Linked DNA regions of Homo sapiens: region 2 is linked to region 1. The links are contacts of gene promoters, found by promoter capture Hi-C in blood cells and fetal thymus (Javierre and others, 2016). All regions are on one chromosome and are shown on one strand. Each heading gives the region's core, a stretch centred on a gene start or on the middle of the fragment in contact. The rest is flanking DNA. Distances are from core to core; before and after follow the strand shown.

Evidence for each region. The method cuts DNA at HindIII sites, captures the fragments that hold promoters and counts their contacts. A CHiCAGO score of 5 or more calls a contact.
Region 2: a contact is called between a fragment that was not itself captured here and the fragment with the promoter of MRPL43 in region 1, in 2 of 17 cell types (M0 macrophages and naive CD4 T cells). The highest score is 5.5, in M0 macrophages.

Annotation. Positions count from the first base shown.
Region 1 is chr10:100,984,280-100,988,986 of GRCh38, reverse strand. MRPL43 (mitochondrial ribosomal protein L43) reads left to right here and starts at 1,490. Exons shown (of 3, transcript NM_032112.3): 1 at 1,490-1,674; 2 at 1,791-1,897; 3 at 2,012-2,718. The coding sequence starts at 1,544. The coding sequence ends at 2,253. It overlaps TWNK (twinkle mtDNA helicase), which reads right to left and starts at 1,444. Exons shown (of 5, transcript NM_021830.5): 1 at 1-1,444. The coding sequence starts at 776. It overlaps SEMA4G (semaphorin 4G), which reads right to left. Exons shown (of 15, transcript NM_017893.4): 15 at 3,371-4,707. RefSeq lists an enhancer at 1,662-1,731. The HindIII fragment of the contact is 4,949 bases long and covers 1-2,901 here.
Region 2 is chr10:100,545,158-100,550,272 of GRCh38, reverse strand. It overlaps HIF1AN (hypoxia inducible factor 1 subunit alpha inhibitor), which reads right to left. Exons shown (of 8, transcript NM_017902.3): 5 at 4,224-4,330; 6 at 3,692-3,755; 7 at 3,023-3,133; 8 at 1-2,180. The coding sequence ends at 2,136. Among named protein-coding and RNA genes, the nearest start is that of HIF1AN, 12 kb to the right of the region's middle. The HindIII fragment of the contact is 4,435 bases long and covers 1,066-5,115 here.

The sequences.
Region 1 (4,707 bases), core at 241-2,740:
TCAGCATCTCGACGACTAATCAGTGGTAATCCAAACAGATTGTGGTAGGCGCTGGGTCGGGGAATAGTGGTTTCCTCGTAGCTCACTCCATCCCCCTGGCATTTAGCCTCTAGGAGCTTCAGGCCTCGTAATCCTGAGCCCCCAGGGGAGAACCAAGGGAAGACAAGACTGCGAGCAGGTCGCAGATATCGCACACTGAAACGCTTGAGTGTGTCATCTGTAACCTTGGTAAGGCCAAACATTGTATCAGCCAGCTGAACCTCCTCCTGATCAGGCAGCTCCCAGAGAGGTATTGCTCGGTTCCAGATCCTCCGGACCTCCTCGCTGTCCTCAAATTCTGGTGCCTTGCTAAGCAGAAACCCCTCCCTGGCCCCATCCCCTCGCCCCTCCACGCTGGCCTGGAAGTCTTCCCAGCTCCCTTCTGCTAGGCTGGTCATGCAGAGAAAGTGGCCTGTGGTCTTGTCAATGAAGAGGCTGAAGGAAGTGGTAACACCAGTCTGGCCTTTGAGCTGTGAAGACTCTGCAAAGGGGCTCAGTGCCCGCAGGCAACTGTGACCATCCTGGAAGGGGATCCCATGCCCCCGCAAATACTGGCGGATTTCAGTTGCAGTTACAGGCAACACTGGCATATCCAAGGCTTGGAGAGTCTCCTTCCTGTAACGTCTGCGAGGAGGGCCTGGGGCCAAGTTTCGGGGCAGGCCCCTCCGACCCATCCACTCCCCACGCAGGGGTAACAAGATACGGAGGGGGTACCCACTTCGGAGGAGGACCCACATTCCTAGCCAAATGTGGGAAGTCACTACTTGAAATGCCTTAGGTGCCTGGTTAGCGTGCCTTCACTAGACCAAACTCTAGGGATATCCCACGCAGCACTCTGCAGAGCTCACTCTAGGTGCATTCTTTCTCTCCATGAATTTCTCCTCTTCAGCCCCTCTACGTTGCTGCTTCACACATATGCCCATCTACACGACCCTTTCGCGTCCACGTCCTTCTACAATGGCTCCCCCACCTCTATGGTCCGTTAGTTAGTTTCTCTCCGCCACCTCACCTCTATGACCCTCTATACAGTTCCTCACTGACACAGTTTCTTTGCATCATCTTCTCACCTCTACTGCTCCTCCACAGCATCTCCTCGTCGTCCTCATTTCTATAGTCATCTGCATCCTTTTTGTAGTCCCTTTGCCCTAGGCCCCGACTAGAGACCCTCTTCCGCTTCTCCTTCCCCTCACTGGGACCTCAACACGGCGAGAGCACCCAGCACGACTCCCGCCAATCCCCCGGCCCAAAGGAATGCCAGTCTCTATCCTCCCCCGTGTCTTCACTCCGCTCTACTACTCCGAGCTCCGCCGCGCCGGCCCCCAGCCCCAGGTTACCACTTTTCTCTCTCCCACTTCGCCGGCAACGTGAGTCTCCCGCACATGCTACTCGCCTTGACCTCGGAAGCAAAACTCCGGGAGCGGTCGTCCCGGAACCGGAAGCCTCGAGGTTTAGTCCCGCCCCCCTCTCCTCGCTGCTTAGGCTCCGCGGCCTCCAAGCTGTAGCTATGACGGCGCGCGGGACTCCGAGCCGCTTCTTGGCCAGCGTTCTCCACAACGGACTGGGTCGCTATGTGCAGCAGCTGCAGCGTCTGAGCTTCAGCGTCAGCCGCGACGGCGCCTCGTCTCGCGGCGCCAGGTGAGCCAAGGGAAGTGCGCAGGCGCGGGTCGGGGTGGGTGTGGAGGTGGCAACGACTCCCCGGGTAGGTCGCCCCCAGTCAGGGGTCATACTGCTCACTGTCCCGGGTCGCTTAGGGAGTTCGTGGAGCGGGAGGTGATCGACTTCGCCCGACGGAATCCAGGGGTCGTAATATATGTAAACTCGCGTCCGTGCTGCGTGCCCAGAGTAGTGGCCGAATACCGTGAGTGGGGCCGGGCTCGGGCTGGAGGGCGGGATCAGGGGCTCGACCCGCTATCCTCCTTCTCGCTTGGTCGCACCGGCCAGCTTCCACCCACTCTCACCCCTCTTCTGCCAGTTAACGGGGCTGTGCGCGAGGAGAGCATCCACTGCAAGTCGGTCGAGGAGATCTCGACGCTGGTGCAGAAGCTGGCCGACCAGTCGGGCTTGGACGTGATCCGCATCCGCAAGCCCTTCCACACCGACAACCCTAGCATCCAGGGCCAGTGGCACCCCTTCACCAACAAGCCGACCACGTTCCGCGGGCTACGCCCCCGAGAGGTTCAGGATCCTGCCCCAGCCCAGGTGCAAGCACAGTGAAGAGTTGCCCCACCAACTGCAGCCCCAGGCTTTGGACTGTTACTCCGGTAAAGGTGGTTCTTCCCCTTTGGGATTCCAAGCCCAGGCAAATGGAACCCATCAATGGGCAAGTTGACAGAGGTTCTGCTTGGGATAATGAAGAGCTGCCTGTTTCTTTCCAGTGCCTGCTTCTGGGGGCAGTGACCTTGTGAACCACTCATTTTTATGCAAGTGGCATCCCTAAAACCTGAGATGAGGAAGACTTCAAGGGTTTTACAGGGCCCTTGTTTTTTAAATCCAAATTGATAATAATGATCTCAAAACACAGTGAGAGGTCTGAAGGCTGGCTTCTGAAGAATCCCTGATGTCTTATTGGAACAACCACTGAGCTACGGAGAGCTCTGCTGTGATGGGCTAGGCACTTTATATCTGTGTGAATACAGATTTATAAAACAGGTTAATAAACTTATCCAAGGTCACATTTCAGGTCTGTCTTCAAAATGTGTGCATATGTTAAGCACAAGCCTCAGTTTTCATTATTTTAAAACTAGACGCAGAACATATAACAACTGTCAGGTGGTTAGTATCAAAGGCCAAGTGATTAATCTAGGCCTGACCCCTGAAAGGGAGAGGGGAGTGATTCTCAGACCAAGTCCTGGCTGACAAGCTTTCTCTGGTCTTAGCTATACATCTCCTTCCCCCCACGTCCCTCTTTGTGCAGAAATAAAATCCATGTCCCTTGAGCCAGCTGGTGGGGGGTGCTGAGAACCTTGGGGAAGGGCAGGAAGGCTGATATTAATGAGTATTTTCTAATCTTAGTTTAAAAAGGGGGGATGGTGGGGAAATGAGAGGCAGGAAATGAAAATCTAGAAACCCCTGTAAGAATTCTTGAACTGTTGTCATTTTCTTGTCATGCCCTAACACCATGATCAATGAATAGTGTGAACCTTACTAAAGAGGCCTGTGTGCCTGCCAAGGAGTCAGGATGGAAGCGGAGGATCCCAATTTCCTCTGCAAATAGTTGTATTGGGGAGCAGAGCCAATCCTGGAGGCAGATATCACCTTCTGTATAGGCTCAGGAGCCTGTCCCCTGGTGATCAGGGGTGGGCGCATCTAGATGAAGCAGACTAGTCATAGCTGTGGGGAAAAAGGGTGTTTATTAACCAACGGCAGGGGGAGGAGCTGAGCCCAGGCTCCCCACTCTGTCACATGCCTGTTCCACCCACCTGGTTGTAAGTGGGGGCATTCCTAAAGAAGTGTAGCCATTCTCACAATAAATACATTCATTGTGGGGTGGAGGTGGGAGAGGTTGGGTGAAGGGCAGTAAAAACCCGTGGGATTCCACGTTCTCAGCTACAAAAATAACAGTCATCCTCACCCGAGGGGAATGGGGGAGCTCAGTCAGAATTGATTGTCCCATATAGGCCTAGAGACTTCAGAGGCCCCTGGCCCCTGAAAGTGCCCCGGTGAGGTAGGACAGGGGTAGGAGCTAAGCGTCCAAACTCCCAGCCTCTGCCCTTTGCATAGTTCCAAGAATGGGCTTCATGTGCCAGTTGAGACATCAGATTTCTCCTCCCTTTCCCTGCTGTAGTCTAGAGGAAGCAAATGCTTGATTCCCCCAAAAGAGAGGCTGGCTCATTGAGTGCAGTGTTGGTCATCCATCCTAGGCAAGGGCCTGTGAGGACAGTTAAATGGGAGGGGGATCTCCCTCTGAAATGTCCACGGACTAAACCCAACAGACAGGTCCAAGACAGCAAGGGAGGCTCAGAGGTGCATGTGAGTGGAAATGTAAGCACATGTGTGATACAGGTGTGTGTTACCACATGTGCATGGGGATGGGACATGCCTGGAGCTCTGTCTCTCATACTCTTGAGAATGACCAAGGAGAGTGGGGAGGCTGATTCACAAGGGCCACACAGGAAGGGAGAGGAGGGGAGTGATGCAGTCTTACCTCCCCAGGCTGGCCCGTTCCCAAGCTCTTGACAAAGAGGTCACCACATGGGGCTGGGGAAGAGGACCAGATAGGATGTGGCAATTGGGAGGGTACCCCAAGTCCAGAAGCAGGGATGAAACAAGAATGCACCAGGAGAAGGTGAGGGTGGGGGCACTGCAGCCCAGCCGATAAACATTCTTCCATGTGTGCATGTGAATGTACGCAGGGCTTAGGTGGCTGGCAGAGGTCTTGTCTGGTTTCAGGACCATCCAGCACACAGGGCCATGCAGAGGGTGGTGACATTGAGCCCATATGGACCTGCAGAGCCCTGCCTGGGAGAAAGAGAAAGGGTTTGGGCAGATGAATGGAACAGGAGGATGGAGTCCTCACCTATAAGTGTTTAGGTTAGGGGATAGGAACTGGCTCTGGGTCTGCAGGGCACCTGATCCTGAGGGAGCACCTACCTCTGAGGAGCACCGATGGGCCTGGGCTGCTCACATGTGGGTCTGTGGAGACTGAGGAGGGGGCTTTGGCTGGGCCTG
Region 2 (5,115 bases), core at 2,034-4,533, 440 kb after region 1:
AAGGTTCCAAGATTAGCCTTCTCCCTCCCACCCCTCAGCCACCTTAGTGAGACCTGTGTCAGCAAATAACTCAGCAAGGACCAGCTGAGTGCATGCCTCCTTGACACATCACCCACATCTTTGAGCGCTGAGCGAGGAATACAGCAGACCTGCTGAGGAGAACGAAAATAATCTACTATCTTTCCAAGTGTGACTGTGGCCAAGTTTTTCCTCCGCTCCTGTGCTCCTCTTTCCCAAAAGAAGTGGAGAGATAGAGATCACTGCAATCACATTTCCCAGCATTGACTATATTTGAAAGAGCTACACTTGAGAAGGTACCATATCTTCACATCCACACTGCATCAGAGAACCCCAGAATGGGGTACTAAAAATAAACACCCCTCCCCAAAAAACGCACTCAGGCATGCACACACATCCACACGCATCCTCTCAGTTCATCAGTGCACTATAACTGAGCTTCAGGGGTGAGAGCCAGAGCTCAGATGCTGGAAGTAAACCTTTGGCAAAAAAAAAAAAAAAGAAAAGAAAACCAGAGACCTTCCAACTCCTCTTCCCTTCCAGAGAGAAGGTGATGAAGACAGGAGCAGAGGTGAGGAGACACAGGGCCACCACACTGCCCAATCCCAGGGACCCCACTCCCACTGAATAGATGTGAATGATGGCCCTTCAAGTTGTGCAATCACAGCTGCCCACCTGTAAGCTGCAGCCCTGAGAGGGGTTCCCAGGAGTAGCTCCTAACAGAAAAGGAAATTCGACTTCCATGCTCCACCAGTTGCCCTGACTATTGAGGGTGTTGTGGCACATTACAACGGGGTCTGGCAGAGGAGCTGGCTTTAAGACGCAAGCCTATGTGTTTGCCCGTGCCCTGAGGTGGATCACAGGTAGTGAATGAGCTGCCTGGGCTTGACCCCATTTCATCTATTCAGCCAGGAAGCTCAGCAGGAATAAAGGATATGGCCTGGGCAGGGAGCATCATAGGGCCTGGAGGCTCTAGCCAGTTAGCCTCGGGCAGGCTGCAGTGAGACCTGGCCAACATATGATGGCTAAAATCCAAGTGTAAAAGCTTAGGATAGGTCAGGCAGTACTTCCCGGGGGCTCACACTGTACTGTCCCACTGGAAAAGGTAAGCAGTGGAGAACCTTGGTAAGTAGGGAGGCTGGCCAGTGTGGACACACACACACACACACACGGACACACACACACACACGCACGCACACACACACACACACCCAGAGGCTTGCACCCCTAGTGTGGATACGCACACACAGACACACACAAACAAACACACAGAGGCTTGCACCCCTAGAACCTAGAGAAGCCACAGCTAGGAGAACTCCCTTGGTACCCAGCATAGGGGCAAGAGCTGGTGCTGAAAGAGAGAAACTATATGTGTCTCTAATTTAGAACTTATGCACAATCATTGGTTCTTATGTCCCAAGGTCCTTTTATGTATGGCTTGAGCTTGTAGGCCCAGTTGGAACCCTATCTAATCCTCTCTCACAGGAAGGCTATATAGGCTCTCAAAGGCAAGCCTCCCCTCTCTTTCACCCCATTAGAGTCCCGGTAGCCATTCCCATACCGCCTAGAGCTTGACTACGCAAAAACTGTCAGGAGGCAGACTGACCTAATGGTCAGACTAGCTCTGGCCCTGCAGCCCAGATGCAGTGGGGAGTCCAAGAGCATCTCATCTCTCTCTCAGGCTGAGGCACTGAGGTTGCAGGAGATAGGGCTGAGAGCCGGAAGTGACAGCCTGACCCAGAAGGAACAGGGAACAGATACATACATGCGTGTGCATGCACACACACGCACACATTCCGAAGTTGACAGACTAACATACACACAGACATGATGACAACCAAAAGCTGGGACTCCACACACTGAATGCAGGACTTTAGGCGGGGGGCAGAGAGAGAAGGTGCTGGGGCACAAGAGGCAAGGGTATGAAGTCCCTCCAAATAGGAGTGGAGTGCCAACTGCCCTGCCTCGCTCCAAACACCTGACTCCTGGGCCATGGCAAGAGTCCAGTCCATTAAGTGCAGCGTGCAATACTAGCGCTTGGAGTCTCCTGTCCTCATCAATGAAGCGGTGTGGACGGGATAGCAGTCACCTGGCAGGAGGCCTTGACCCCTGGCAGGCTAGTTGTATCGGCCCTTGATCATTGTGTTCAACAAGGGCCCCACCTGTAAAGAAACATGAGGAGCCAATCAGAACTGGCTGTTCCCTGGCCCTGGAATTGGACAGGGTGTGTCTGGAGACATCAGATGTCCAGCCAAGGACAGAGACAATGTTTTCATACAATCTTGTGAATCCTCTAATCACCTATCTTCCTGAAGGTCAACCCAGTATTCTGGGACATAGTCTTTCCCTCAGGGGTCCATCTTGTACTATTATTCTTCTCTCGCACAACACCGTCTCTTACCGTAATCTGCCCCAAACGGACAGACATGGTCAGAGAAGCTAATAATCCCCGAACACCCAAGAGTGTCTATATGTTTCTCCAGAATGTTAACTGCCTCCATATCCTCAAAAAATGATCATCTGCAACTGGGGCTGATGCTATCTCCCAACACCACAGGTGTCTGTGGATGCTGAGGTTACCTCCAAGAGGCAAGCAAGAACCCTACAAATACAAACCTCCCCCATTTACCCAATGGGCCACTGGCACACCTGCATGGGAAGCAGGTCTCTCAACATTACCTACAGCAGCCCTGGCACAGCTGGGAAAGTGCAAGGAGATGTGTTAGTGCTCGCTTCCTGTTCCAGAAGAATCCCCTCAGGGGGTCCCCAGATGGTACATAATACCCATGGGGAACATTACTACTAGCATGGAACTAATTATAATTGATCTGCCAGTCAAGCCCAGCTATCACCAGAAAACAAGAATTTTTCTGAACATACCCATAACCTCTATGGAGAGAGAGGACACCAGACACTGAAACACAGAAGCTGTAAAGAATGTCGCTCTGATCCTGACTTTCCTTGGTCAACCCACCCACTGAGCCACCTTGGGGCAGTCACCTACCTCTTGTGGGTTCCCCAAGGCCTCTCCAAGCATCTTCTCAATGTTTCTCATTATGGCCACTTTCTGATGAGCTTTGAGAGGATATTCAATTCTCTTAGGGGTGGGAGCCCCCTACAAAGGAAGCAGTAGCTCAGGAAATGCCTTTAGCAGCAGGCGTCAGTGTCACTCTACTGTTCTTAGTACCATCCTCCCTTCTAAGAAACCCAATTCTTGCCGGGCACGGTGACTCAGGCCTATAATCCCAGCACTTTGGGAGGCCGAGGCGGGTGGATCACTTGAGGTCAGGAGTTTGAGACCAGCCTGGCCAACATGGTGAAACCCCATCTCTACTAAAGATACAAAAATTAGCCAGGCATGGTGGTGTGTGCCTATAATCCCAACTACTCGGGAGGCTGAGGCAGGAGAATCACTTGAACCCGGGAGGCAGAAGTTGCAGTGAGCCGAGATCACGCCACTGCACTCCAGCCTGGGGAATAGAGCAAGACTCTGTCTCAAAAAATATATTTAAAAAAAAGAAACCCAATTCAATCCTGTCCCTTTCATCTCCCCAGACACCTGACAATCACTTCCAGGGATAGTCAACCATCCCATCCAAAATCATTTATTATACCTACCTCACCCAAGAGCCAGTTCCATCTGGAAAAAACAAAAAAAGCAAACCATATTCACCTTATACCAGAAGTTCACAGTGATGGTAATCCCCCCATTTAGTAATGACTCTATGTGATGCCACCTGCAAGAAAACAAACAGGCTCCTGTTTACTACTGATACTTTTGGCGGGGGCGGAGGGGCGAAGTGCGGGGGGGTGGCAGGGTTGGGCTGAAAAACTAGGTGGAGTCCAGTTACGGAAAATAGTGAAGACAATATCTTTACACTCATCCTGTGAAAAAAACACACACTTGGGGGTTAGAGGTACTGGTGTTCAGTCTCGAAATACCAAAGAGCCAAGAACAGTTTTTCTAGGCTCAAGCCTCCGGAATCTCTTTGGACTTGAAGAACCGTCATCCTGTCCTAGAGACAGGGCTATCATTCCCGCCACTATCCCCCACAGGTTCAGTACGCTCATGTCTGGATATGCCAACCTTCCTATAGACCACATAAAACCAATCATGCCATAACTCAGAAGCGACACAGACAAGGCTTTCCAGGGAATGGAAAAGAAAGCTCCCAAAAAGCCCCCAGCCCTAGCCCCCTTCTCACCAGTACATTGGGATGTAAAGAACATCACCAGGGCCAACCACTGTTTCGTAACCAACCACATTTTGGAAATTAGGGAACCTCTCGTAGTCGGGATTGTCAAAGTCCACCTAAGAGGTTCAAGAGAAAGAAAAAAAATATCAATCACCAAATCTTCACCAGTAAAACTACTATATGCCAGTTTGGCAGTAAAAACAAACAAACAAACAAAAAAAAAACGATGCCTTAAAAAAAGTATTTGGAATTTATATCCAGCAGAAGATATAATGCACATTAAACCCTGAGAGAGAACAATATAAGACAGTCCACATTTGAATGTTAAGTGATAAAGAATCCTAGGCTTCAGTGCTCCTGAGGTCAGACGACCTACTCCACAGCTGAGGATATGAGGAATTAGGAATTATCCTCCACCTAAACCTTCAGAAACTTTTCCCAAAAACATATTCTAACCAGCAAAGACTCCCACATGAAGTAGCTAGACAGCTTTCTGAAGAAAGGAAAGGATATCTTTGGCTGGCCACAGTTAACCACATACCTCATTTAGATCTAGGAAATACATTAAACAACATAGCTCAGTTTTATTCACCCTTCTTATCAAAAAGAAATAGCATCCATGACAAAAGCAAACAATGATTAAATCCAATGGAGACATACACATTTTGTTCCATAAACTTATAAGCCAATCAAACAGAGTAACCAGAGTCCATCAGCATCAATGACAGTGTCTGTCCTGAGAATTAGCTCTGTGGGGCTAGTTATACTTACAAACATCTGGTGGCCACTCCAGGGAGCCTGGAATATGTGAGCTACAATGAAATTACCCTCTTGGTGTGTTAAGGCAAGAACAGCCTGTAATCCGAACCTGGCATATCACTACGGGGAAGGGGAAAGACAT